Linked DNA regions of Homo sapiens: regions 1, 2, 3, 5, 6 and 7 are each linked to region 4. Evidence: promoter capture Hi-C in 16 types of primary human blood cells and fetal thymus (Javierre and others, 2016). All regions are on one chromosome and are shown on one strand. Each heading gives the region's core, a stretch centred on a gene start or on the middle of the fragment in contact. The rest is flanking DNA. Distances are from core to core; before and after follow the strand shown.

What was found. Contacts are between HindIII fragments. The CHiCAGO score rates a contact against its expected background, and 5 or more counts as called.
Region 1: a contact is called between a fragment that was not itself captured here and the fragment with the promoter of ADAM10 in region 4, in 14 of 17 cell types (megakaryocytes, M0 macrophages, erythroblasts and 11 more). The highest score is 22.1, in megakaryocytes.
Region 2: a fragment that was not itself captured here is called in contact with the fragment with the promoter of ADAM10 in region 4 in 10 of 17 cell types (erythroblasts, megakaryocytes, endothelial precursors and 7 more); the score reaches 9.0 in erythroblasts.
Region 3: a fragment that was not itself captured here is called in contact with the fragment with the promoter of ADAM10 in region 4 in 12 of 17 cell types (megakaryocytes, total CD4 T cells, erythroblasts and 9 more); the score reaches 8.6 in megakaryocytes.
Region 5: a contact is called between a fragment that was not itself captured here and the fragment with the promoter of ADAM10 in region 4, in 1 of 17 cell types (megakaryocytes). The highest score is 5.2, in megakaryocytes.
Region 6: a fragment that was not itself captured here is called in contact with the fragment with the promoter of ADAM10 in region 4 in 14 of 17 cell types (megakaryocytes, M2 macrophages, fetal thymus and 11 more); the score reaches 28.3 in megakaryocytes.
Region 7: a fragment that was not itself captured here is called in contact with the fragment with the promoter of ADAM10 in region 4 in 10 of 17 cell types (fetal thymus, megakaryocytes, erythroblasts and 7 more); the score reaches 11.0 in fetal thymus.

What each region holds. Positions count from the first base shown.
Region 1 is chr15:58,242,234-58,245,122 of GRCh38, reverse strand. It overlaps LOC124903499 (a long non-coding RNA gene), which reads right to left. Exons shown (of 3, transcript XR_007064653.1): 3 at 531-870. Among named protein-coding and RNA genes, the nearest start is that of AQP9, 110 kb to the right of the region's middle. The HindIII fragment of the contact is 6,517 bases long and covers 1-2,889 here.
Region 2 is chr15:58,299,267-58,302,381 of GRCh38, reverse strand. No RefSeq gene overlaps it. Among named protein-coding and RNA genes, the nearest start is that of LIPC, 130 kb to the left of the region's middle. The HindIII fragment of the contact is 510 bases long and covers 1,256-1,765 here.
Region 3 is chr15:58,415,323-58,418,334 of GRCh38, reverse strand. No RefSeq gene overlaps it. Among named protein-coding and RNA genes, the nearest start is that of LIPC, 15 kb to the left of the region's middle. The HindIII fragment of the contact is 2,111 bases long and covers 377-2,487 here.
Region 4 is chr15:58,748,036-58,751,147 of GRCh38, reverse strand. It overlaps ADAM10 (ADAM metallopeptidase domain 10), which reads left to right and starts at 1,441. Exons shown (of 16, transcript NM_001110.4): 1 at 1,441-1,668. The coding sequence starts at 1,614. RefSeq lists enhancers at 822-1,001, 2,092-2,221, 1,673-2,308 and silencers at 1,072-1,361, 1,692-1,981. The HindIII fragment of the contact is 2,079 bases long and covers 638-2,716 here.
Region 5 is chr15:58,315,857-58,319,187 of GRCh38, reverse strand. No RefSeq gene overlaps it. Among named protein-coding and RNA genes, the nearest start is that of LIPC, 110 kb to the left of the region's middle. The HindIII fragment of the contact is 587 bases long and covers 1,136-1,722 here.
Region 6 is chr15:58,262,830-58,265,975 of GRCh38, reverse strand. No RefSeq gene overlaps it. Among named protein-coding and RNA genes, the nearest start is that of AQP9, 130 kb to the right of the region's middle. The HindIII fragment of the contact is 4,002 bases long and covers 1-3,146 here.
Region 7 is chr15:58,351,083-58,353,938 of GRCh38, reverse strand. No RefSeq gene overlaps it. Among named protein-coding and RNA genes, the nearest start is that of LIPC, 79 kb to the left of the region's middle. The HindIII fragment of the contact is 1,345 bases long and covers 826-2,170 here.

The DNA.
Region 1 (2,889 bases), core at 379-2,878, 510 kb after region 4:
GAACTCTTGGGCACCTCCACGTGGATCTCACCTCTCTAAACCAACAGTAACCCCCAGAGGGGAGAGGCTTCACTTCCCCTCCCAAATCCTACACGAATTCACATTGGGTCAGCTCAAATCCGGAACACCCTGGGAAATGTAGTGCCCAGTGGAAACAGGTTGACTCTAGAACAATCCAGCTCAAGGAGTTACAGACTGATGCTCCTTTTACTTTTTAAATTTACACTTTTTATTTCATGTCAGTTATATCTTAGTGACTAGGAGACACCTGGATTCTGTGATTCTCATTTGCCATTTGGCACATTTCAACGCATCCTTCAAAGAAGCCAAGAGCACATGCCGATGATGCACAATTTGCAATTTGTTCTCGAGGGAATCAGCAAACAGCTGTTCTCTGGCCTTGGGCTACTTTTGAAAATGCAGTCAGTGGCCAGAGAAGGTCGTGTGGGAGAGAAGCAGATTTGTGACAGGCTCAAACTGGTGACTGGATGGACTTTAATGAAAAGAGAAATCACAGAAATAACTCACATTCACGGTCGTCGTCATTGTTTGTATTTTCCAAGTTAAAAAATTTAAGACCAAGTTTCCAGTTATTGGAGGGCCCCACGTGGAGATGGGCAGCAGCTGTCAGGGACGTTGCAGTCAAATCATTGATATGTTTTCGCATAGCTTGGTGGGAAGCTGCAGAGGGGAAAGTGCTGGAAATTGCTTCCTTGGGAGCTTCCTGCAGGCATGGCACACACCACCACCAAGCCATCCATTTGGCTGTTCATTCTAAGGACCACTCAGGGGACAAACAGATGATCTAACAGCTTTTGACTCAGTGGAGACAAAGCTATGGAAGGTGGGGTGAGAGGCCTCTCTGGAGAGCTGTCAAAAGAGAAGAGACAGGAGGAAGTGGGGAGGAGAACAAGAGGCTGAGCAATGTACAGGGTATAGAATGTGCAACCTGGTGTGGGCAGATGTAGAGAAAACAACTTATTCTCTGCTTGGTGACAGAGATGTAGTTCTTCTGGCACTTGATTCCCAAGAATGTTCATACACTGAAATATATTCTCTTTGCTTGTAAAGTCTGTGTCCTCCACATTCCCTTCATTCAGCAAAGGGAGACAACATTGTGTAATAAAAAGTAACAATGCTATCAGTAACAATAGCCAACACATACTGAGCACTTGTTATGTTCTGGGGATTATTCTCAACGCATGACATGCATGAGCTCATTAAGCTCTCACAAGAGCCCTGTAAATTGGGTGCATCATGGTAATGGAGCACCCAGAAATGGAGGCACAGAGAGATCGAATGACACGTCCAGGTGACAATGACAGGTGAGTTGGCTCATGCAAGGATTCACAGCATTGGCTTTGAATTCAGGTCATGAATTGCTAGATGTTTCACCTGGGGCAAGTCAATTAATGTAAATTATTTTTAGTTTTTCATCCATAAAGTGGAAATAATAATAGTTTCTATATCTCAGAGTTGTGGTAAGGGTTAAACATTAGCTTGACATTTATATGCCTGGTATATAGTAAGAGCTCAATAAATGGTCTCTTATCATTATCACTTCCTAGGATGTTTTAAATCGTTTCCATCCCAGCAGCCCTCAACCCCAACTGTTTCCCTCTCACATACCCATAGCATTGCCATCTAAAACCTGTGTGTGTGTGTGTGTGCGTGCACGCACACACGCATGTGTGCACACTCCCAGTCATCTGGGGAAGAAGGGAGATGGGGAAATGAAAGAGCCACTTAGAACTCAGACTAGCCCTGGGGACTGTGCAATTGCAGCATCCCTGGGGTGGCATCTGCCTGCCACTTTTTGTTTGTTGATTTATTTTGATTTGACACACGAGGACAGATGGCTGGGGGAAGGAGGTTGATAAGAGTCAATATTTGGTGACACGTGAATAATGCACTTGTGGAATTAATCAGCCTTGTCATTTTGGGCTAGTTGCCATGGCTATGGAGAGTCCTGGGTCTCGTGTAAGTCAGAGTGAAGGGATCGCAGCATGTCACTGCTCCTTGTTTTTCTCAATCCAAGGCTCCTCAAAGAGTCCCTGTCTTCCCCATCAAGGCCATGGTCTCAGACACCTTGGGTGCTGCAAATAGTAAGAGTGCCTCGCCTATGCCCCTGAATGATGGGATAGCCTTTCTGTCCCTCTCAGGGATCATGTGCATCTACGGCAGTGATTCAAAGACCAGCAAACAGGTCTGGGAATCAGCAGAATCACCAATATTTTGTGTTGCCGTATAAGTGCAGTAAAAAGAAAAAAAAAAAACTACGATTTAAAAAAGGAGCATTTTAATACCAAAAAGAAGGAAGGACATAATTTCAGAATAGAAAAGTCATTCTTTACAATGAGAACACATGGACACAGGAAAGGGAACATCACACACCAGGGCCGGTTGTGGGGTGGGGGGAGCGAGGAGGGATAGCATTAGGAGATATACCTAATGTTAAATGATGAGTTAATGGGTGCAGCACACCAACATGGCACATGTATACATATGTAACTAACCTGCACGTTGTGCACATGTACCCTAAAACTTAAAGTATAATAAAAAAAGAAAAAAAAAGAAAAATGGTTCTTTAATTAGAAAAAATTTAGTTTAATGAAAAAACTTTCCCATCATCATTTTTTTTCTCATTTCATTGATGACTAGTGGAAACTTTTAACAGATTGGCCATGTAGGTATATTTCGTAAGTGTGGAGGCAAGAAGACAGAATACTCAAAACAGTGCTTCAGGTGGAATTCTAATGAGTGTGATTGTTGGAGACATGGGGCAGAACAATGAGCTCCTTGGTGCCTCAGTGTGCCCCGTCATAAAATGAGTATATCTGTTCTCACCTTGTTTACTTCATGGGGTGGTTCTGAGGATTAACTAGACAA
Region 2 (3,115 bases), core at 261-2,760, 450 kb after region 4:
GCATTACTGCTAAACCAACACCAGAAATTGCTTTCTACTTCCTGCTATATGAGAAAAACAAATCTCTATTTATTTACACCACTGATAGCTTTTCTAGTATTTGCAGTTGGATCCAATCACTCTTGGGTTTTCTATTATTTGCAGCCAAAAGATTTTCTGATAGCAAAAGTTAGAGTTACTCCCTTGGGCAAAAAGCAAAGGGAACATGGAAGAGGTGAAGAAGAGAGTTATAAATGGTAGCTACAGCCTTAGGATCAGTTGTAGAAATAAGGGGATTGTCCCTCCCTCTTTTTCAGGTGAATTTTCCACTCTCTGCTAAAGTATCTGACAATTGAATAACACTACTCCATTCCCTCTTTCATTTTTTTAAAAAACAAAATAGATGTTATTATTTTCTTTATTGCCAGCTTAAAAATTCTCTGTTCACCTTCCACCATATTTGTCAGGTGTGTTGGTTGTGTCTCCATTCACCATTTGCCCCGAGTTTGCAGAATAGAGAGGACCTATCGTTAGAAAGGGTTGCAGAAGGAACACTGGAGGAGTATTATCAGAAGATCATGGGCTTGCTGCAGAAAGTCAACTTTTCAAGGGTCCACATGACTTAGCCATTGCACATAGTACCTGCAGAACACATGTCTTTGGTTGCCTTCTTGCTGGGAGCAAGTGAGTTGTGTATAGCTGTGTAATACTCATTACAATGAATAGGATGTATTGAAAGCTGTTAAGAAAGAAGGGTATGTTGCAGGTATATAAGCAAGGAGTGGAATATCTGTCATGGGGCCTGCCGTGTTCAGCATTCTCTCTGAGCTGAAACTCCTTGGCCTCAATAGTATCTGCGTACATGTGTGAAATGGTGGTTCACAATAATAGGAGGCATAGTCAGTCTACAGTAAGTGCTTGGTGCACATATGGTTTCTTAGACCCCTGAAATATCTTCATAGCCCCCAGGAACTGGGAACCACTGGTTGACGTACTCTGCCTTCAGTATCAGATTTAATTAGCTGCATTTGTCCCGCACACCAACAGAGTAGGAAGGGGATGCAATGTTCAGGGAAATAATCCTGCTCTTCCAGGATTGTTTGGTAAAATTTGTTTGACCTTGCACTGATTGTGAAGAGAATGAGCAGCCAAAACCGTGGTGAAGTAGGCAGGAGACTGTGTGATACAATATGTAAGGTGTCCAAAGACACTCCAGTTCTGAATTCTCCCTCATGCCCACGACCTATGGAGAGGCTTCCTCCACTGGAGATAAGCTTACTGCCCCTCCTGTCTAATCCTCAAACGGTCCTTCACTGTACTCTGCCCTGGTCTGTAATTGCCTGTGCTGCCCAGACCAATTCTTTTTTGCACATGGCTTTTTCTCTGATTTGTATGCCTGCACAAAAAATTGCACGAAAAATTGATCACCCAAGGCAGGCTCGCAAGCTGAAGGAGGAGAGATAAGACCAGGGCATGGGATGCTACCCTGGGTGGTGATCAAGCAGTAGACACTAGAATACTTCTGGTAGAAGGATAGAGGTAGATACCGGGATGTGGGAGGAAGAGCCACCAGAGGACGAGGGCTCAGGAAGACAGATTTTACTGATTGTATTTTATATCACTCTTTGGCCTTTCAGGAGGCCAGATCATCATTTTATGCTCCATTACAATACCCACACTGATTATAATGACAGGCATTTTGGATTTTGTCCTAATAGCTCTTGTTTACCTTTTAAAAATTTTGTATTTTGTTAGTCATTTTAAGAAACACATGCATTGAGAAGCTTGCAGATTTTTCTAAGGGAAAATAAGACAGCCCGGACCAGGGGGAAGAGTCCACATTTTAGAGTCAGACTAATTCATATACAAAACCAGATTCTGCCACATACTGCTGCTGTGTGGCATTGGACAAGCCACTTAACGTGTCCAAGTTTCATCTATAAAACTGTGATAGTGTAATACCTATTCTGCAGAAACCTTAGTAGGATTTCATGGAGAACATATGTAAAGTTCTTCCCTTGGCATCTGGAAGATCCTGCCCCCTGCTAGCAGTGTGTAACAGCTGAGATGTATGGACCCTTATTAGGTGCTGGGAAATGCCCTCAGCACATTAGCTCATCTAACACTGATATGGTCTGGCTCTGTGTCCCCACCCAAATCTCATCTCAAATTGTAATCCCTATAGTCCCCACATGTTGAGAGCGGGACCTGGTGGAAGGTGATTGGATCATGGGGGTGGTTTCCTCCATGCTATTCTCGTGAAAGTGAGTGAGTTCTCATGAGATCTGATGGTTTTATAAGGGGCTCTTCCCTCTTTGCTCGTTGGGTCTCTCTTGCCTGTTGCCATGTAGGACATGCCTTTGCTTCTCTCTTGACTTCTGCCGTGATTGTAAGTTTCCTGAGCCCTCTCTAGCCGTGCAGAACTGTGAGTCAATTAAACCTCTTTCCTTTATAAATTACCCAGTCTTGGGTAGTATCAGGTAGCGTCTTTATAGTAGTGTGAAAACAGACTAATACAGACACAGAAACAGGTCCTTGTGGCCTCCATCCCCTGCAGTCTTCCCCAAGAGAGTTCCCAGAGGCCTTTCTAAGCAACTTCTGTGGTTTAAAAACCACTGCTGTGAAGGAAACAAAGACCTCACTCCTCTCCTTTGAAGCTGATGGCCTGTCTTTGGCCCTGCCTAGGCTTCACAGAGGGTCACCTCTGGAGGCCCAGGGTGTGAAGAAGGCAGAGCCAGGCTTAATCAGTGATCCACAGAGAGGTAGAGGTGAACTGGGGGAAAGTTGCCTCCCAGGGAGTCCTGAAGTGGATGAAACTGAGTCATGAATCGGCCCACAGCTACTCAGCGGCTCTCAGAAAACTCACCACATTCTTCTGGCGTGTTTCTAACTGCTTGTGGAGCAACTTCTGCCCCTGACCTAAGAGGGCTGGGGAATACCATGAGCGAAGAGCGCAGACCCAGAAAGCCCTTCAGAGCCCATGGCTGTGAGCACCAAGGGAGAGGTCTGGGCTGAGCCCTGGCGGGGATTATGTGGTTGCTCCTTGGGAGGGATCCAGTGCAGTTAGGAGGGCTCTGGCCAGATAGACTGAATGGAAGGACTAAGTTGATGATGCAAACCAGGAGCCAGAACTCAC
Region 3 (3,012 bases), core at 183-2,682, 330 kb after region 4:
CCAGACTGCTTCCATTTACATGTCTTTGATTTCTGGCAAGAATTAACATTTCCCCACTATGTTTATCTACTAATTGTATGCCCCTTATGGGAATTGTCCAGTCTTTGACCCATTTATCTTTTGGAATCTTGACATTTATTTTACAAATTTGAATTAGTTATTTATGATGGATCTTAATTCTTTGTAATGTTTGATAGAAATATTTTCCCTCTTAAAAAATCTTCAGTAATGCTAATTTTTATAGTGCAATCATTTCAATTGCTTCAAAGCTGAGAAAGTTAAAATTACCCCAGAGAGCTGATAAACTCTCTTTCCAGTTGTCTGCAAGTTCTATCATAATTTGATTTTATATTTAAATCTTTAATCAACCAAAGCTTATTTTGTTGCACGTTTTATTTTTAATAACTTTTCTATTATAAAATCAATAAATGTTTATTATTGTAAAATAGGAAAATAAAGAAGAACAAAAAGAAAAACATACATAGGTCTGTGATTTCACATTTAGAGATAAGCACTGTTGACATTTTGATGTGGATATCCCCAAGTCATTTTTTCTATGTATACAATTATTTAAAAAAAATAACTGTAAACACACTGTACAAAGTGTTTAAATACCTGTGTATTAACAACACATTAATGGCATATTTCAGGGGCATTAAATATTCTTTTAAAACATTATTTGAAATAGCTACAGAGTACAGTTACACTCTATAGATGTACCATAATTGGCTTAATTCCCTATTGTTTTTTCATTAACTGTATTTAAGATAACACTATTATGAACAATGCTATTATAAACATATGCATAAATCTTGGTCCACATGTATGATTTTCTTTGTATAAATTATTTTTTTAGTAGCTTAAAAAAATTTTAGATTCTGAGGGAACATGTGCAGGTTTGTCACATGGGTATATTGTGTGATGCCGAGGTTTGAGCTTCTAATGGTTCCATTGCCCAAGTAGTGAATATTGTACCCGATAGGTTTTTTTAACCTTTGTCCCCCTCTCCTTCTCACCCCTTTTAGAATGCCACTGTCTATTATTTCCATCTTTATGTCCACTTGTACTCAATGTTTAGCTCCCACTTATAAGTGAGAACGTGCAGTGTTTATCTGCTTTTGTGTTAATTTGCTTAGGATAATGACCTTCAGCTGTAGCCATGTTGCTGCAAAGGATGTGATTTTGTTCTTTTTTATGGCTGCGTAGTATTCCTTAAAAATAATACTACAGATCATATATGTACCACGTTTTCCTTTGTATAAATTTCTTAAAGTAGAATTGCTAAGGCAAAGGTTTTATATCTAGGTATCTATATCTACCTATATATTTTGCCTTTACATATACACTGCTACGTTAAGTAAATTTCTGTCATTTTAAGTACTCATTAGCAGTGAGTGTACTCCTCCTCTGTCCTATCCTCCACCCTTGTTAACATTAGCTATTAACATTTTTGTAATTTTATGCTAAATTGATAAGCCAAAATGGTATGTGCATTTTTAAATTTTTCTTTAAAACCAATGGGTTGAAGTTGAATTTACCACCACTTCCATTTTTATTGCCTTTTTTCTTTCTTTATGAATTATCTGTTCATGATATTTATATATTTTACATACTTTATATGTTTTTATATGTAAAAACTGAGGTGCTCACTTAAGAAATTATAATGATTTCAAACACACGCATGCGTATAATGCATAGTTTTGAATACCACCTACTTCCCAGCTCCATCAAATCCTAATATTTTGCTGTACTTGCTTCCTATTTTTGCTAAAAAATAGAGTGCTGTACCTGTATAACTGTGTATCTCTTCTCAAGCCTGATCTTATTTTTCCTGTCTCAGAGGCAACGCCACCCTGAGTTTGGTGTCTTTCATTCTCATCTCTGTGTGTATATGTTTGCAGCATATGTATGTAGCTACGAAAAATATACAGTAGTTCCTCAGTATCTGTGTGGGATTGGTTCCAGGACCACCCACTGATGCTCAAGTCCCTGATACAAAATGGTGTAGTGTTTGCATATAACCTATGCACATTCTGTCATATGCTGTAAATCACCTCTAGATTACTTATAATACTTAATACAATGCCTATACATCCCTTCATTTGCCTGGTTTTAACATGGTACTCAGGATGTGGCAAATTCAAGTTTTGCCTTTTGGAATTTTGTATAATTTTCCCCCCAAATATTTTGCATCCTCGGTTGATTGAATCTATGGATGTGGAATCCCATGGATATAGAGGGATGATTGTACCATTATTTTGTATGTTTTCAAACTTTTATACTCTACACATCTATCTGCAACTTGTTTTGTCACTCAGCAGTGTATTTTCGAGATTTATCTCTGTTGATAAAACACCTACAAATGGTCCCATTTTAAGAAAGTATCAGAATTTGTTCATTGGGTTGATGGATACTTGTGTTATTTAGTTTTTTCATTTTCCTATTACAATATTGCAGTAGACATTGCATCATCCACAAGTGAAAGCTTCTAGAGTTTATTCCTAGAAGTGAAATTGCTGGATTGTAAGATATATGTCCCATCAGAGTTAGTAAGATGTTGACAATTTATTCTTCAAATAAATTACTTCCGTGAAAGTATCGTTGGCAAAATGTGAGTGTTCCTTCAGTTTTTCCACCTCATCACCAACACTTGAGGAGTGTCAGATTATTTAATTTTCACCAGTTTGATGGATGTAAAATGGTATCTCATTGTTTTAATTTTAAATTTTCTGATTACTGGTGAGGTTGAACATTTTCTTACGTGTGTGATTGTTCATTCAAATTTCTGTTGCTGAGAATAGCTTATTCATATCTTTTGTCCTTATTTCTATTAGTTCATTGCAGATATCCTCCCAGTTTGCATTTTATCTTTCATATCGCCTGTAATGTCTTGTTTCACAGAGTTTACATTTTTGTTTAATGAGATTTACACAGTCTTTCCCTTCAGGAATATCCTTAATGTCTTCATTTCTTCAATTTTCCTTTTTTTTTTTTTTTTTTTTTTGAGATGGA
Region 4 (3,112 bases), core at 192-2,691:
TGCGGTGAGTCGAGATCACACCATTGCACCCCAGCCTGGGCAACGAGAGCGAAACTCCGTCTCAAAAAAAAAAAAATTCTCTTCACTTATGTTAATGGTAATAAATGGTATAAAATATACAGGTAACAGTATAGGAATTCCAGTTTATTACAGTATCAATAACATTAAGGCCGAGCGCAGTGGCTCACGCCTGTAATCCCAGCACTTGTGGGAGGCCGAGGCGGGAGGATCGCTTGAGTTGGAGGTTACAGTGAGCTATGATCACACCACTGCACTTCAGCCTGGCGAGACAGCGGATACCTTGTCTTTAGAAAGCAAAACAAAACAATTTACACACACACACACACACACACACTCTCCCTAATTCGGCTTGAGTTGGAGGTTACAGTGAGCTATGATCACACCACTGCACTTCAGCCTGGCGAGACAGCGGAGACCTTGTCTTTAGAAAGCAAAACAAAACAATTTACACATACACACACACACACACGCACACACACACTCTCCCTAATTCGGCCTACTCAAGCACGATACCAAATAGATGAAGAATATCTAATTAAATGGCCATAAAAAGTTCTAGTTCATGACATCCAAGTTTAAAGAATCAAAATGAGTTACGAGAAAACAAACACAAGCTTTAAGAAGTTGGGGAGAAGATGTGCGTGGATTCGCTTCAAAGATGTGACAGAGAGAAAAGAGGACATTTTCTGGACTGGAGATTCAAGACAGTCTGGTTCAGGTTGCATGCTTTTGCAAAGGCTAAAGCCTTAGTCTGTGACATAAATTTGTAAAGAGCTCGGAAAATTACATCTCGGACATGGTGTCTTTTTTTCCTGCTGCTTGAAGGTCTTTGCATTTATGTTCGCATCACTGGGGCAGCTGCCGCTATAATTACTGCTTGTTGGGACTTTTTGTTTACTTGGTAGCTGTGGTGCACCAAGAGAGGCAGAAAAAGAAGAAAAAAAACCTCTGTTACTTGTGACGTTAAGAAGTCGAAAGCAGCCCTGCTTACATCTTCCACGGACCATTTTAGCCCAAGGGAAGGTCCTCAGCAGCTCTAACACGTAGCGGAGCACTATCTCCGCGTAGGAGCGCTCCCGCCCCGGGGCGGGACCAGGACAAACCCCGCCTCCCAAGCCCAATCCCAGCTCTCCGCCGGCGGACAGGAAGCGGCGGCAGGCCTAGCAGCACGGGAACCGTCCCCCGCGCGCATGCGCGCGCCCCTGAAGCGCCTGGGGGACGGGTAGGGGCGGGAGGTAGGGGCGCGGCTCCGCGTGCCAGTTGGGTGCCCGCGCGTCACGTGGTGAGGAAGGAGGCGGAGGTCTGAGTTTCGAAGGAGGGGGGGAGAGAAGAGGGAACGAGCAAGGGAAGGAAAGCGGGGAAAGGAGGAAGGAAACGAACGAGGGGGAGGGAGGTCCCTGTTTTGGAGGAGCTAGGAGCGTTGCCGGCCCCTGAAGTGGAGCGAGAGGGAGGTGCTTCGCCGTTTCTCCTGCCAGGGGAGGTCCCGGCTTCCCGTGGAGGCTCCGGACCAAGCCCCTTCAGCTTCTCCCTCCGGATCGATGTGCTGCTGTTAACCCGTGAGGAGGCGGCGGCGGCGGCAGCGGCAGCGGAAGATGGTGTTGCTGAGAGTGTTAATTCTGCTCCTCTCCTGGGCGGCGGGGATGGGAGGTGAGGCACGACTGCGAGCGCCGGGGGCGCCGCGACCACGGCGGAGCGGCGGCCGGGCCGAGCGGAGCCCAGTCGCGCCTCGCGGCGTGCGCGTCAGTCAGCCCAGCCGGCCAGCGGCGCCACTCTGGCGGGCCGCGCTCCCCGCTCCCTATTGTCCCCCGCGCCCCGACCGCTTTCCCTTCGGTGGCGGGCCGAGGAGGCTCCCAAGCCTCCGGCGAGGCCTTCCCCGCCCCCCACCGCCCTGGCGGCCCCGGGAGGCGGGGGTCGCCTCCCAGAGAAGCGAAGTCGGGGCATCCGCGTCGCCTGGTGAGAGCGGTGGAACCCAGGCTGGTGGCTGCATCCCTCCAGTCTGCTCGGCGGGCGCCGGTGCAGGCAGCCGCAGCGAGGCTGGCGGTCTCGCCGTCCTCGTTCAGCGCTCATCCTGCTCACCATTCCTCCCCCAGCCCCTGCCCGGTGGCGGATTCCGAAGTCCTCTCCGCCGCCGAGACCCGCCGCGCAGACTCGTGGGAAGTTGTGTTGTTTGCAGCTGGGCTCGTGTATTGTTCTTTACCCGGCGCGCCGGTCCTGACCGACCCCATTCTGCAGAGGGGCCGCCCGTGGAGTGGCAGCAGTCATCACCCGCTTATCTGAGACTAGTGGCCTCGGTTCTTCCTGTGTCCTGTGTTTGGAGAGAGATCACAGGAGGGTGTGTTGGTGTTCTTGAAAACATTCTGTCGCCCAGGGGAAAGGGTTTGGTCGGGAGAAGGGTAAACCATTTGGGGATGTTCTTTGATTTGTAGGCTGGATTGGGTCTCTTAGAGTAGAAGTTCGGTCCCTGGGTGACCCAACTTGAAGAGTTTCGTTAAACTTTCAGGTGGAGTAGATGTACAGTGTAGTTAGTGGATTGTCAAAACAGTGCCCCCTCCCCCCTGCACATGAAAGTCAAATTTGCTAAAAGCATGTCATTTCTTGTTTCGGGTTTTGAAGACAACGATTTTTATTTCCGGTGTGTTCTAGGACCAGCTGCATCATTTTATTCTTGCTTAAAGTGCTTTATTTTAGGTAAGCTTTTTGACTTGCCCCAGAGTAAACTTAAAAACCTCAAGGTGTGCCTAAAAGCAACGATTGAAAAAATTTGAGGAATGCTTTGGATGAGTGTCTGTAGCCTTTGATAATTTAGAAAATATCTATTTCATGTAATGTATTGTTTCTGTTTTTTTCTTTGCCACTTTGACTTATGACTGCAGGACCAAGTGTATTTCTGTCCTGTATTCTACCGAGTCCGAGGGTGGTACTGCGTAGGCAGACTTCTGTTATAGTTTGTAGTGTTCATTTTTTTGTTACACGTTTTATTTAATTTTTTTCAATCCAATTCATCAAGCAAGACACACATTATAGATTAAGAGCTGATAATAGATGTTTAGTTTTAAAAAGGATTATGTGCGGGAGACTCTCTGTTAGAGGA
Region 5 (3,331 bases), core at 180-2,679, 430 kb after region 4:
TCACATAATTTTTGAAATTTATCTCTAAGTATTTTGATTTTTCATGCTATTGTAAATGATAGTTTTTAAATTATAAGTTCTGATTATAGCTTGTGTATAGAGATACAGCTGGTTTTGCATATTGATCTTTTATCCTGCAACCTTGCAAAACTCACTTATTAGGTCTAGTAGCATTTGTAGATTCCATTGTTGATTTTCAACATAGACAATTATTTTGTCCTCCACATTAAACGTGATTGTGTTGTCCTTCTTTAAATTATCTTTGCTGGGAGGTTGGTCTAAATTACATACTGTGCCAGAGCCTGAAAATCCAAATGATGTTCTCCTCGGTGAGGAGTGGGAGCTTAGTCTCATTGTACAATCAATCTGCATTTGAATCAGTAGCTTCCAGTCCGTCTTGAGCCCATATGTGTAGGCCACAGTGATATTCTGGCTTCCCACCCTGGCAGTCTTGGCACCTTGGTGCCCAGAGAGCTTCGTGCTATTTGTAGTAGTGCATTTCACTGTGCAATGTGTCCTCCAGACTCTGTATAAATGTCAGATATTATTAATCTTAGTACTTTTAGCCAACTTAATACATCACTCTCTAAACGTGGTAAAGTTTACGTTTCCCATATACTGAGATCACAATATCATAGCACCCTCATCTGAAGGTGATTCGGCATTAGTAAAAGCCTATCATGAATCTATACCTCTTTTCTCTGTATTCTCTGGCTCCTTCCACACTCATCCCAACTCCTTCCCATGGCCTTTCTCTGACTTAACACTTTTTTTAAACATCTTTTCGTTTTCAGGCACCGAAAGGTTTAGAGTCAACCCTTAGCAAGGGCACGGAATTTCTTGACATGCGTTTTTGTATAGGCCTCATTCCTGGCTCTGTTTATGTTTCCATCTCATTTTCCTTTTGTCTCTTCTTTCTTGCCTACTACTGATTTATATTCCTTTGATATATTTTACCTATTTTTGTGAGTCAACCTAAATTCTTTCTGAAAAAAGGCAAGATACGAATTACAGTTGACCCTTGAACAACATGAAGATTAGGGTACTGACTGACCCCCTGTACCGTCAAAATTCTGCATAAAACTTTTTACTCTCAAAAACTTAACTACAAATAGCCTACTGTTGACCAGAAGCTTTACTGATAACATAGTTGATTAACACATATTTTGTATATAATATATATTATATATTGTAGTCATAATAAAGTAAGCTAGAGAAAAGACAATGTTTCTAAGAAAATCATACAAACAACCATCAGAGAATACTGTAAACACCTCTATGCACATAAACTAGAAAATCTAGAAGAAATGGATAAACTCCTGGACACATACACCCTCCCAAGACCGAACCAGGAAGAAATTGAATCCCTGAATAGACCAATAATGAGTTCTGACATTGAGGCGGTAATAACCTACAAACCAAGAAAAGCCCACGACCAGATGGATTTATAGCTGAACACTTCCAGAGGTATAAAGAAGAGCTGGTACCATTCCTACTGAAACTATTCTGAAAAACTGAAAAGGAGGAATGCCTTCCTAACTCATTCTGTGAGGCCAGCATTATCCTGATACTAAAACCTGGCAGAGATACAACAACAACAAAAAAAAAAAAAAAAAAAAAAAGAAAAAGAAAAAACTTCAGTCCAATATCCTTTATGAACATCAGTGTAAAACTCCTCAGCAAAATACTGGCAAACCAAATCCAGCAGCACATCAAAAAGCTTATCCGCCATGATCAAGTAGGCTTCATCTCTGGATGCAATGCTGGTTCAACATATTCAAATCAATAAATGTGATTCATCACATAAAAAACTAAAGACAAAAACCACATGATTATCTCAATGAACAAAGTAAAGGCCTTGGTAAAATTCAACATCCCTTCATGTTAAAAACTCTCAATAAACTAGGTATTGAAGGAACATACCTCAAAATATTAAGAGCCATTTATGATAAACCCACAACCAATATCATACTGCATGGGCAAAATCTGGAAGCATTCCCCCTGAAAACTAACACAAGACACAATTGTCCTCTTACCAGTCCTATTCAACATAGTATTGGAAGTTCTGGCCAGGACAATCAGGCAAGAGAAAGAAATAAAGCGTATTCAACTAGGAAGAAAGGAAGTCAAACTATCTTTGTTTGCAGATGACATGATCCTATACCTAGAAAGCCCTACTGTCTCAACCCAATTCTTAAGCTGGTAACCAACTTCAGCAAAGTCTCAGGATACAAAATCAATGTGAAAAAATGGCTAGCATTCCTATACGGCAACAACAGGCCAGCCAAGAGCCAAATCATGAATAAAGTCCCTTTCACAACTGCCACAAAAAGAATAAAATACCTAGGAATACAGCTAATGAGGGAAGTGAAGGATCTCTTGAAAGAGAACTACAAACTGCTCAAAGAAATCAGAGATGACACAAACAAATGGAAAAACATTCCATGCTTATGGATAGGAAGAATCAATATCATGAAAATGGCCATACTGCCCAAGGCAATTTATAGATTCTTTGCTATTACCATTAAACTATCATTGACATTCTTCACAGAATTAGAAAAAAAAATTATAAAATCCATGTGGAACCAAAAAGGAGCCTGAAGAGACAAGGCAATCCTAAGCAAAAAGAATAAAGTTGCAGGCATCATGTTACCGACTTCAAACTGTACTTTAGGGATACAGTAACCAAAACAGCATGGTACTGGTACAAGAACAGATACAAAGACCAAAGGAATAGAATAGAGAACCCAGAAATAAGACTGCGCAGCTACAACTATTTGAGCTTCAACAAACCTGACAAAAGCAAGCAATGGGGAAAGGATTCCCTATTTAATAAATGGTGCTGGGAGAATTGGCTAGCCATATACAGAAAATTGAAAGTGGACCCCATCCTTACACCATATACAAAAATCAACTCAGGATGGATTAAAGACTTAAATGTAAAACCCAAACTATAAAAACCCTAGAGACGAAAATCTTGGCAATACCATTCAGGACATAGGCACGGGCAAAGATTTCATGACGAAGATGCCAAAAGCAATCGCAACAAAGCGAAAATTGACAAATGGGATCTAATTACAGATCTTCTCCACAGCAAAAGAAACTATCAACAGAGTAAGCAGACAACCTACAGAATGGGAGAAAATTTTTGCAATCTATGCATCTGACAAAGTTGTAATATCTAGCATCTATAAGGAACTTAAACAAATTTACAAGAAAAAAACAACCCCATTAAAAAGTATGCAAAGAACATGAACAGACACTTCTCAAAAAAGGCACACTTGTGGCCAAAAATATATGAAAAAATGCTCAACATCACTGATCATTAGAG
Region 6 (3,146 bases), core at 282-2,781, 490 kb after region 4:
TTTTTTGAGACGGAGTCTTGCACTGTTACCCAGGCTGGAGTGCAGTGGCGCTATCTCAGCTCACTGTAAGCTCCACCTCCCGGGTTCACGCCATTCTCCTGCCTCAGCCTCCCAAGTAGCTGGGACTACAGGCGCCCACCACCACGCCCGGCTAATTTTTTGTATTTTTAGCAGAGACGGGGTTTCATCATGTTAGCCAGGATGGTCTCGATCTCCTGACCTCGTGATCCGCCTGCCTCGGCCTCCCAAAGTGCTGGGATTACAGGCGTGAGCCTTTGAGCATGGCCAGTCCTGTGAATTTTAATGCACGTGTAGATTTGCGTTACCATCACCACAGCTGGGATACAGAAGAACCCCACCACCCTGGTGGACTATCCCTTTGTAGTCCCATCTTCCTCCTGACAACCACTAATCTATTCTTCATCACTATAATTTTGTCTTTTCATAAATGTCATAAATGGAGTAATAAATTATGTGACCTTTTACTACCAGTTTCTTACACACAGCACGATGCCTTCAGATCCACCCAAGTTGTGCAGTGCGGGTACCCACGGTTTGTTCCCATTTATTCTTCCCTGTGCACCTCTCTTCAACCCCACTCCTCTTCCTCCCTTGCCAAAGGGAACCCCTGCCCCGAAGTCAGTGTGTTAGAATCTCATGAATATTTTAATAGTTTTAGCTGCAAAACAATATATGGTTTTTGGTTCCTAGTGTTTAAAATGTAAATAAATGGCATCATAACATACAAACCATGCTGTAAAATGTTTCTATAACTCAGCATTATGTTTTTGAGGGATATCCACTTTGGTGCCATGTTAATGCTGGGTTACAAATCTTCATCACTCTATAACATTCTGTTATATGAGTACATCATGTATTCATCCGTTTGCCTGTGGAGGAACATGTTTTTTCCCTGTCTGTCTCTCTGTCCCATTACCTCACTCTGAATAGCAGTATTTGGCTCCCTCCTAAACCCCACTCCCTTCCCCAGGGCCTCCAGTCCCTAAGCAGGCCTTGCTGATGTTCAGAAGTACCCACAATGGGGGCAAATCCCAAATCTCATCTTCAAGCTGGCTGCTTGCTTGGCTGAGTACCTGGGCAGAGCCTTTGTCTGGATCCGTTGACCCCTAAGCCCAAGGTGTTAATTAACATCAATCCTGGATGTATGTTGCAATCTCCAAAGGAGTCCTTTAAACAGGAAAGAGGGAGAGGGGGAGAGAGTAGGAGGGGAAGAGAGAGGAGTAAAGGGAGAAGAGGGAGAGAGATTAGGAGGGGAAGAGAGAGGAGTAAAGGGAGAAGAGGGAGAAGGAGGGAAGGGACTGGGAAACGGGGAGGGAAAGGAGAGAGAGAGGGAGAAAGAATTAAAGAAATTAAGTCAGAATTTCTGGGCAGTGGTATTTTTCTAAAAACTTATCAAGTTAAAGATGCAGCCAGGGTAACAAACCCTTGATTAAAACAAAACAATGTTCCAGGCAGCATTTTCTAGCTTTCCAGAAGGTTTGGGAGCCCCAAACCCTGACTTTCCACTCCCTCCATCCCTACCCCTTTTAGCCCTTACAGCCTTGTGGGAGCCACCATCTGAGCTTTCAGAACCAGGCACCAAAGCCCTGGCCTCAGTCCAGCTCCTGGTGGGCTTTCTTGTCATTTGTAGTACACAGGGATGTTTATCTGGTTTCTGAGTCTCACTACAGTGTATAAGTCTTCTCCATTTGTTCTTTATCTGATATGTCTATATGTTGGAGCAAAGATGTTATCTGAGGGCATGAACTTACAGAAATGTTTCCTGTCTCACTTTTGAATGCATACTTTATTCGCTGAAGGACTGCTATTGTACCTTCAAAGGAACTTACGATGCCACCTTATAAAATACCTTCTTTTTGTATTTTGCCTTTTTTAAATGAAAAGGTATTGCTTTTTCTCATTTTAGAAATAATTCATGCTTGCAGTAAAAAGTTCAAACGCTATGGAAATGTATGACTTAGAAAATGAAAGAAAGTGTTCCGTAATCATGCCCCCGCAGATGATTACCACAAATAATTTTGAGCCTATTTTTCCATATGTTTACCATACACATACTAACTTTACAAAAATAAAAATGAAATTACATTGGAGAACTGTAGGGCCAATTGATTTCTGCAGTTAGTGTATCATGGAAAGTTTTCAGTACTTACATAACTTATTTCATTATTTTTAATGGACACATGGTGTTCCTTTGTCTGGTTGTACTGAGGTGCATTTACTGAGGGCCATTTGGGATGTTTTGGTTTTGGCATCATAGATGATGCTGAAATAAACTTTTCTTATGTACATCTCTGTGTATTTATGTAAGGTCAAAAACTGCTTTATCTCTTGGAACAGAAGTGAATGCATTTGCAGGGGAAAGGATAGAGCGGAGGGAGGCTGGTGCCCTTCTCAGCAGTCAGAAGGCAGTAGATGCTTGGGGCTACTTTAGATACTTGGCCCTAGGAGAATATATCTCCTGAGTCTCAAAACTCTCAATGCCGTGCATACCATGACAGATTCCCTTCACTCCACCCTGTCCTGAACCTTTTGGATTGCAGTACACCAGTCTCCAGAAGGTTAACTTGGAAAGGTTAGGGAAGTGTAGGTTTTTGTTTGTTTGTTTGTTTTATCCCTAGATTGCTTATAAAGTGTAGTATTTTTCAAATTGCAGAGCTGTGACCCATTCATGGATTATGAAATAAAATTAGAGGGTTACAAACAAGCAATTAAAAAATAGGGGACAGAGCGAGACTCTGTCTCAAACAAAACAAAACAAAACAAAAAAGAATAGTACAGAAAATAAGAGTGCATGACATGAAGTAAGTGTAAGTACTGTTTACTCAAAATTTTATTTCAGGTGTGTGTGTATACGTGTATCTGTGTGTGTGTCTTAAGTCAGTTTCCCTAGAAGCAGAGCTCAACAAAACAGATCTGGGTGTGTGTGATCTGGAAAAGTGAGGGGGACCAGCTGGGGCAGGAGAAGGAGCTGAACGAGAGTGTGTGCTCCCAGCGTGATTTCTGGGGCTCTGATGCTTGAGTTGTTCCACAGACCTGGTGCTGCCTTAGGGAAGGGGCCAGACTGTGAACTCCCAGGTCCACCATCAGCTGTGGGCTGTGGGCTGATCTGAAGAGGAGGGGTGCGT
Region 7 (2,856 bases), core at 249-2,748, 400 kb after region 4:
GATCAGATGGCTGCTAAGTGGTGAAACCAAGGTCAAATTCAGAACTTCTGACTCTAGGGCCGTCACACAGCGCTGTCTTTAAGTTGTTGAAGTTTGGTTGTGGTGTTGAAGGTCCCTTCAGCTTTTCAGTAGGGGAAAAAGCGTGTGCTGCTGGAAGCCAGCAAGGCAGGTCTCCCTCCATCCCCTAGAGCCTCCTCCGGGGGCCAGTAGCAAACAGCCTAAACAGCAACGAATGTAAGCGGCCCCCGCCTTGAAGACACAGTGCAGTCCTCAAGCCCCTGGTGCAGAATGGGCTGCTGTAAAATGAAACTCTACCGGAAAAATATGGCGGCTGCGTGCCAGTGACTTGGTAACAAGGAAACCAAGTGGTGGCCAACAGGAGATCATAAAAGCAAAGATGCAAAACCCATAAACCTAGGAAATTATGGAAAATCCTCAAACCACTTTCCAAATCCTAGACTTGGTATAAATGTACGGTACTGCTAGTATTGATTATAAAAACAAGGCGCCACTGCCCTTTAGGAGGTTTTTGAGACCACAGTATAAGAAGTTATCTTCCCAACTGCCTTGTTTTACCATAGTACCCCCTCCACAAACCGACTTAAAATTTTGTTAAGGATTTGTTTGAATTTTTTTGTGTGTCATACCTGATCAGTGATTGTTCATCTTTCTCCCAGATCCTTTGCTCTTTGAGGCCAGGATCCTGTCACCCTTATTCACATTCCTCTTGTACCCAAAATAGTCGCTTATAGACAGTAAATGTAATATGTTTATATTGAATATCCCAAGCCACTGCTACCACAACCACCAAAGCTTGGACAAGCTTGAGTGTGATGCTTTCACTGCACTATTTCTTTTCAGATGTAAAACATTGGTTTGCAAATGAGTCCTCAAAATAAGCTGAGCTATATTAACAAAAGCCTTTAAATGTCTCTATGTTTTGGCTGCTCTGTCTATGGAGTAGCCATTCTTTATTCCTTCTTTCTTAATAAACTTGCTTTCACTTTACTCTGTGGATTCGCCTCAAATTTTTTCTTGTGTGAGATCCAAGAACCTCTCTTGGGGTCTGGATCTGGACCCCTTTCTGATAACATCTTTCTGGCGAACCATGAAAGGATGATACTGAGACCTCCAACCCAAAGGAAATAGACTGCAGCAATGATTGGCCAACTTTGGATATCATCTTTTGTCAGAACTTGAGTTATGAGTGGCCCTTGACATACTGATGCTTTCTGACTGAGCTCTTGTCTACCCTGAATACAAGAGACCCTAACAGTTAGGCAGGAATATGATCGCCCCATTCAGCCTGAAGAAGTTACAGAAGATGGATCTTTGTCCCTCTACAACCCTTAGGGTTAAGGGTTCTCTTATAAAAGGGAAGGGGGAAATGTCAGAGGCTGTGGAACCAGAGTGACTCCATCTCATATAGAGGGTGGGTCAAAGCTGCATTCCCAGGAGGCTAGGCATTCTAAGTCACAGGATGAGATAGGAGGTTAGTACAAGATAAAGATCTTAAAGACCTTTCTGATAAAACAGTTTGCAGTAAAGAAGCCAGCCAAAGCCCACCAACACCAAGATGGTGATGGGAGTGACCTCTGGTCATCCTCACAGCTCATTATATGCCAATTATAATGTATTAGCATGCTAAAATACACTCCCATCAGCACCATGACGGTTTACAAATGCCATGGCAATGACAGAAAGTTACCCTATATGGTCTAAAATAGGGAGGAACCCTTAGTTCCAGGAATTGCCCGCCCCTGTCCCAGAAAACTCATGAATAATCCACCCCTTGTTTTGTATATAGTCAAGAAATAATCATAAAAATGAGTGACAGTGGTGTATGCCACTGCTTTGCCTGTGGAGTAATCATTCTTTATTCCTTTACTTTCTTAATAGGTTTAACTTAATTTCACTCTTGAGAATTGTAAGGAAACAACTAGGAATGCAAATATATTTATGCACATGAAGCTCATAATAATATTATTTATAATAGGTAGAAACTGGGAATGACCCACATTTCTGACACTTTTGAAGGGATTAAATTAAATAATAGTTTTTCATATGATAACATTTAAAATATGTTTATTAAGGCTTTTAATGGGCCAGGGAAATGCTTATGATAGGATATTGTGTGAAAAACCAAGAATTCAAAACCATATGTAAAGCTTGAAATAAGATTATCTGAATTATGAAAATTGAGAATGGAAGAATTGCAAGGAAAAATTAAGAACTTCAAAGCAGAAAAATTTTTTTATTACTTTCTTCTTTATATGCTTCTGTATATATGGATTTTTAAAACTAAAACTAAAGTAATTCTGGAAAAACCAACATATAATGTGTTAAAAGGGATGAAAGTCACCATTTAAAAAGTCAAGAAAGCAACATATATCCAAACATTTATTACCAATTAATAAGAAAAATTATAGGTGAAACAAAAGGAAAAATGGGAAAAGTATATGAACAGGTAATAAAATAAACACTTAAAAACGTTCTCATCCCATAGCTGTTGGGGTAATGCCAATTAAAAGAACACTGTGAAAACCAATTTTTCACCTAATGATTGGCAAAAATGAAAAAGAGTTCTAGTGAATTACCTACTACTATCAAGTTTCTTTTACAATAGTGATGAACACGACTATTCTGGGAAGGTATAATCTAGTAAATATAGAGGTATACACGTGTGGGGTCTTCATTTGTCAGAGGCATCAGATGGGAGAATCAGCCCACCAAAATCAAAAGAACTTTATGTCATGAATTCTATAAGTTGGATACTCCGAATGAGTACTGTGTGGGACTTCCTTTCTTTTAAAATGTGCATCTCATTTCTGGGTTGTGTGAGAAGCCGACTCTGAG